2 separate regions of the Homo sapiens genome follow, and region 1 is linked to region 2. The links are contacts of gene promoters, found by promoter capture Hi-C in human tissues and cell types (Jung and others, 2019). All regions are on one chromosome and are shown on one strand. Each heading gives the region's core, a stretch centred on a gene start or on the middle of the fragment in contact. The rest is flanking DNA. Distances are from core to core; before and after follow the strand shown. Region 1 overlaps ZNF107 (zinc finger protein 107). Region 2 holds the start of ZNF138 (zinc finger protein 138).

The links. The method cuts DNA at HindIII sites, captures the fragments that hold promoters and counts their contacts. A contact is called where the count stands out against the background at its distance.
Region 1: a fragment that was not itself captured here is called in contact with the fragment with the promoter of ZNF138 in region 2 in 2 of the 25 tissues and cell types used here (H1 embryonic stem cells and hippocampus).

The regions. Positions count from the first base shown.
Region 1 is chr7:64,708,170-64,711,307 of GRCh38, forward strand. It overlaps ZNF107 (zinc finger protein 107), which reads left to right. Exons shown (of 4, transcript NM_001282359.2): 4 at 1-3,138. The coding sequence ends at 487. Among named protein-coding and RNA genes, the nearest start is that of MIR6839, 31 kb to the left of the region's middle. The HindIII fragment of the contact is 5,049 bases long and covers 1-3,138 here.
Region 2 is chr7:64,793,078-64,796,025 of GRCh38, forward strand. It overlaps ZNF138 (zinc finger protein 138), which reads left to right and starts at 1,351. Exons shown (of 4, transcript NM_001271639.2): 1 at 1,351-1,494. The coding sequence starts at 1,492. RefSeq lists enhancers at 1,077-1,126, 1,367-1,606, 1,391-1,951. The HindIII fragment of the contact is 15,546 bases long and covers 1-2,948 here.

The sequences.
Region 1 (3,138 bases), core at 248-2,747, 85 kb before region 2:
CCTAACTATACATAAGAGAATTCATACGGGAGAGAAACCTTACCAATGTGCAGAATGTGGCAAAGCCTTTAACTGCTCCTCAACCCTTAATAGACATAAGATAATTCATACTGGAGAGAAACCTTACAAATGTAAAGAATGTGGCAAAGCTTTTAACCTATCCTCAACCCTTACTGCACATAAGAAAATTCATACTGGAGAGAAACCCTATAAATGTGAAGAATGTGGCAAAGCTTTTAACCAATCCTCAAACCTTACTACACATAAGAAAATTCATACTTCAGAGAAACCCTACAAATGTGAAGAATGTGGCAAATCCTTTAACCAGTTCTCATCTCTTAATATACATAAGATAATTCATACTGGAGAGAAACCCTACAAATGTGGAGATTATGGCAGAGCTTTCAACCTATCCTCAAATCTTACTACACATAAGAAAATTCATACTGGAGAGAAACCCTACAAATGTGAGTATGGCAAAACTTAATTGATCCTACAAGCTTACTACACATAGGAAAATTCATACTGGAGAGAAACTACAAATGTGAAGAATGTGTTAAAGCCTTTAACAAGTCTTCAACTTTTTCTGCACACACGAGGTATTTTATACTGGTGAGAAACCTTACAATGTAAAGAATGTGGCACAGCTTTTAACTAATCTTCAAACCTTACTGAAAGTTGAGAAAATTCGTACTGGAGAGAATCCTACAAATGTGAAAAATGTGGCAAATCCTTTAACTGATCCTCAACTTTTACTAAACATAAGGTAATTCATACTGGAGAAAAGCCATACAAATGAGAAGAATGTGGCAATGCCTTTAATCAGTCCTCACACCTTTCTACACATAAGATAATTTATACTGGAGAGGAACTCTATAGTTGTGAAGAATGTGGCAAAGCTTTTAACCAATCCTCATACCTTACTATACAGAAATTCATACTGGAGAGAAAGCCTACAATTGTGAAGAATGTGGCAAAGCTTTTAACCTTCCTTAACCCTTAACTGTAGATAAGAAAATTCATACTGGAAAGAAACCCTACAAATGTGAAGTCTGTGGCAAAGCTTTTAACTGATTCTCAACTCTTACTACATGTAAGAGTATTTATACTGGAAAGAAACCCTACAAATGTAAAAAACGTGGCAATGCCTTTAACTGGTCCTCACACCTTGCTACATATAAGACAGTTTATACTTTGAGAGAAACCCTGCAAATGTGAATAATGTGGCAATACTTTAAACCAATCCTCAAACCTCACTAAACATAAGATAATACTGAAAACTTTACAAACCTGAATGATGTGACAATAATTTTGACAACACCTCGAACTTTCTAACATAAATCATACTGGTGAAAAATCCTAGAAATGTGAAAAATATCACAAAGCCTTTAAATGGTTGTCACACTTGATTGTAGGTAAGAATCCATACTGAAGAAAACTCCTGGAAGTGTAAAAAATGTGGCAACACTTTTAATAAATGCTCACCCCTTATTGCACAGGAAAGCATTTATACTTCAGAAAGATTGTACAAATACAAGGAATGTGGAAAAGCCATTATTATCTGCTCAGATTTTACTCAACATTAGAGAGTTAGTACGTAATAAAAGCATTATAAATGCAATTTTTGTCAAGAGATCTTTCAGAAAATATAAGCCTTTAAAGTGAAGAAGAGGAGCCAGTTGTGCTGGCTCACATCTGTAATGCCAGCACTTTGGGAGGCCAAGGTGGGTGGATCACCTGAGGGCAGGAGTCTGAGACCAGCCTGGCCAACATAGCAAAACCCCATCTCTATTAAAAATTTTACAAAAATTAGCTGCGTGTGGTGGCAGGCCCCTGTAATCCCAGCTAATTGGGAGGCTGAAGCAGGAGAATTGCTCAAACCTGGGAGGCGAAGATTGCAGTGAGCTGAAATCACACCACTACACTCCAGCCAAAGCAACAAGAGCAAAAACTTCGTCTCAAAAACAAAACAAAAAAAGAGTATTCATTGTGAGGACAAACAATACAAATACGAAGAGGGTTGTAGTACCTTTACTTGTATCACAGATACTTTTGTACCCATTTTGCACTAGAGGAAAACCATGAAGCAGTTGCTCAAATGTTGTTCAACACCAGAAAATTTATATTGGAGAAAAGCACTGTAAATGTAATGCATTTGTGAAAACATTTTTTAAAAAACTACAGCTTAGAAAATACCAGAGGCCTCATACTAAAATATATTTTTGCAAGTGAAGTAAATATAAAAATAATTTAATCCAAAATTAAGTCTATATAAATATCAGAGAATTCACAGTAGAAATATCTAAGGTACTGACACTTCAGACATTGCTGAGTATAGAATCAGAATGCTGAGTATAGAAAATAATTTAAAACTAAAGTTGGTAGGTAAATAATGTGTATATAACTTTAAAAGAAGTAGAATTTTTTTGTAGATGTATAATTACATTCAAATTATATTTTTTCTTGAAAAATTAGTTTTTGAAAAGCAAATGATGTAATTCAACTCAAATTCATGCTCTTCATTCCTATTGTATTCACATGTGAAAGCATGTGATTAATTTTTCATGCATCAAAGATATGAGAAATCATTTCTGTTAGGTCGGTATTATTTATGACACTTTCTATGAAAGAATAAGGACATTAAAATGTAAGATGCATGATGAAAACCTGAGTGAAGAGGCTGTTTGTGTTTAACTTATAATATTGAGTGATCCATGAAGTAGGTTTTCAGAGCAATATTCTTCTGCATTATAGTAAGAGAAAACCATTTTTAATCTTAGTTAAAATTAAAGTGAATTAGTAGTATATCATTTTACTATTTGTACTTTTATGTAATAAAATGCAATGTGTTTAAAAATTTTTGGATTATGCGTGAACTTAGTTTTTTAATTAAACTTTTTTTAACATGTTAAAACTATTGTGCATTCAATGAAGTGTTTTCATGCCACTGACTTTACCTATCCCACATTACTCAAGGGTTTAGGTAAAAGAGGGTAACAGTATACTACTTGATAACATAATGGGCTAACATCTCTAATAATTATTTTTGCTAGTGACTTTAAACTGCTAATAAAGAATATTGTTCCCATAGGTTAGATTTTTATTCTTTTTAAAATTTAAACTTATTTCTCTTAATTT
Region 2 (2,948 bases), core at 101-2,600:
GGGCACAAATCTAAAAGAAATCTGGCTTCTATTTTAGAAGTGTCACTCTCCAGGATTTCAAGGGTCAAATGGAGTTAATTCTGAGTCCCAGCCCAGCCACTTAATAGCTGTGGGTCTTTGCACAAATTTTTTTTTTTTTGATGTGGAAGAGTTATATAAACCACATATGCAAAAAAAGGCAGAATGATACTGATTGCAAAAATGTTAGCAATTTTTCATCCCTCCGCTATCCATGCCCATTGCCAGGTGCATTTACAGCTGTTTCCATTGAGATCCAGTTCTGTTTTCCAAACCCTAGATCTGGCTGGCCTTATTTGCTCAGGGCAGTAAAAACCTGTGAACAGTGCAGTGTGCTAGTTTGAGGCGTAGGCTCAAATGGTTTTGCATGCTTCTGTTTTTCTTTCAGAAGGCTACTATCTCCGCGAAAAAAGCCCATGTTAGCCAGATGGAAGATAAAATAGTATGGGGAGGAGAAGCAAGTTGCCTCTGTTGACAGCCTCAGAAGCAGAAGCTCACCCCCAGAAGCACAGCTGCCTAGTCAACAAGCAGCTGATGATACATGTCTGAAGGAACTCAGCTGAGGTCACAAGAATGGTCTCACTGAGCCCAGCCTAAATGACTAACCATCTCAATTAGAGTGAATTCCACCTGTTTATTCTTAAAGTTTGACTACTAGAAAATTTGGAATTCACATGTGCTCTGTAATCCCAGCACTTTGGGAGGCCGAGGCAGGTGGATCACCTGAGGTCAGGAGTTCGAGATCAGCCTGACCAACATGGCAAAATTCTGTCTCTATTAAATATACAAAAAGTAGCCGGGCGTGGAGGCGGGTGCCTGTAATCCCAATTACTCAGGAGGCTAAGGCAGGAGAATCACTTGAGCCCGAGATGCGGAGTTTGGGGTGAGCCGAAATCGTGCCACTGTGCTTGAGCCTGGGTGAGAGTGAGACTCTGTCTCAAAAAAAAAAAAGAAAAAAATCTCAGGCTGCCTGCTCAAAGGACCAGAAGCCAGTACGGTTATAAAATCTGGAATTTAAAAATAATTGTTATATTCAGATGTGAATAGCTATATGTTATTTATAAATGCATACGACCTTATACACAAGGTTAAATGCAAATGCCCTCTGGGGTGGGCCTGACTCAGCTCAGGGAGGAAGCCCTTCTGGAAAAGGCTGCTGCTTAGGTTTAACTCTGTCTTCCTTCAGCCCAGCACCTGAGCACATCTGTCACTCAGGGCCTGAGGGGGCGGGTTGTTAAACGTTATCCAATCAGGGACGCCGGGCTGGGAACGGTCCAATCAGGCACCCAGCTGGAGCGGACATGACGTCTTCCGGGAGGCGGCGGGGTCTTTGTCTCGCTGCAGCGGGTGCTGCAGGTCTGGCCTTCACTTTTCTGCGTCCTCTTACTCCTAGAGGCCCAGCCTCTGTGGCGCTGTGATCTGGTTATTGGGAGATTCACAGCTAAGACGCCAGGATCCCCCGGAAGCCTAGAAATGGTGAGAGTGCTGGGTCCGACATCCCGAGAGAGGGGGAGGGAGCTGGTTGGAACCGGTCGGAAGTGGCTGTGGCAGTACTCGGGTCTTCCCGCAGTCGGCTGCAAAATCCGCGGCCCCGAGTTCTTGGCACAGCTCGGCCCTCAGTCCCCTTAAGCCATAGCATGGCAGCTGGGCTGACAGCCGGAACCAGGCGTCCTGTCTCCTCCCTGCGCAGTGACTGTGCCCTGGCCTGGAGCCCTCTCTGAGCAGCTCTGCACCCGCAGCGATTGTGCAGAGACGACGGGAGGGTCGTCAGGGGAGAATCCTGACTCGGGGTGCTGGGTTCATGAATGGGAAGAGGTTTCCTCCGCGGGCTTCCCTGTCCCTCTTTTCCCCTATTAAAATTTATGAAAGTCACCGCAAAAAAATTAATTTAATCAAACAGTGATTCAAGAATTGTGGAGCACCCAGCTGTGGTTTGCAGTAGTGGTCCGTGGGAGGGGTTTGAAGGAAACACTTGTATAAGGTGTATGATAAAACCAAATTCAGTAATTGGTTAGTAGAGTTATGTAGTTTCTTAATTTGTACAATGAAGGAGGAAATTTCCTGGTCATGTAATCAGAGGTTAATTGGCAGTTTACAGTTGGTTAAACATGAATTTTATTTTTCACAAGGTAGTAATTTACAAAAAAATGCATTTGAGTTAGATTTTTTTAAAACCAGAAACCCTGGGACTGGAGCGACCTCAGTCTAATTGCCTGCCACTTAATTATTTTCACACTCCACAGGGGACAGATCTTCCCCTTCATTTTTCACATGTGTCCCAAGCAGGGTCTCAAGACTCCTCCCCCTCCCCATTTCCCATTCCTTCAGCCTAACTCTGGCTTGCAGTAAAATACTAAATTTCCAGTTCCTTCTGACATTCCCAAATGCCAACTTCCCCTTCCTAATTCACATTATCAACTATTTGTCCTTTAGTGTACATTTGAAATACTGTATTTTAATTAATCATTTTTTGACAAAGCATGGATGGCATTTTAAAAAAGATTTGTTATCTGTTTGTAAATATTTCCCATGAGAAGAAACCAAAGACTCATCCCCTGATGCTGTATTGTAAAAAATCTCTGTGCCTTTTTTTTTTTTTTTAAATCTTCCCTAGGTACAGAGATCTTATCAGAATATTTTTGGGTCAAGGTTTCCCTTTGGAAACTTTATAAGGTAATGTGTCCTTAGTCACTCTTCAGTTTTTTCCTTGGTCCTGGGTTTCAGTACTTTCTGAGGATAAATCAAAATATCCACTGTGGCTGTGTATGCTAGAATCTCTGGTAAATTTCAGCTCCTGGCCTGGAATGAACTCTGGTTATCTGGGAATGGGAGACAGAGGACAACCTGAGGTTGGAGTGTAGCCTCTCAAGGGAGCAGGTGAATGCCCTGGGGCTGAGAGGAATCTCCTGGTGTACTCTTCCTTTGAAAAG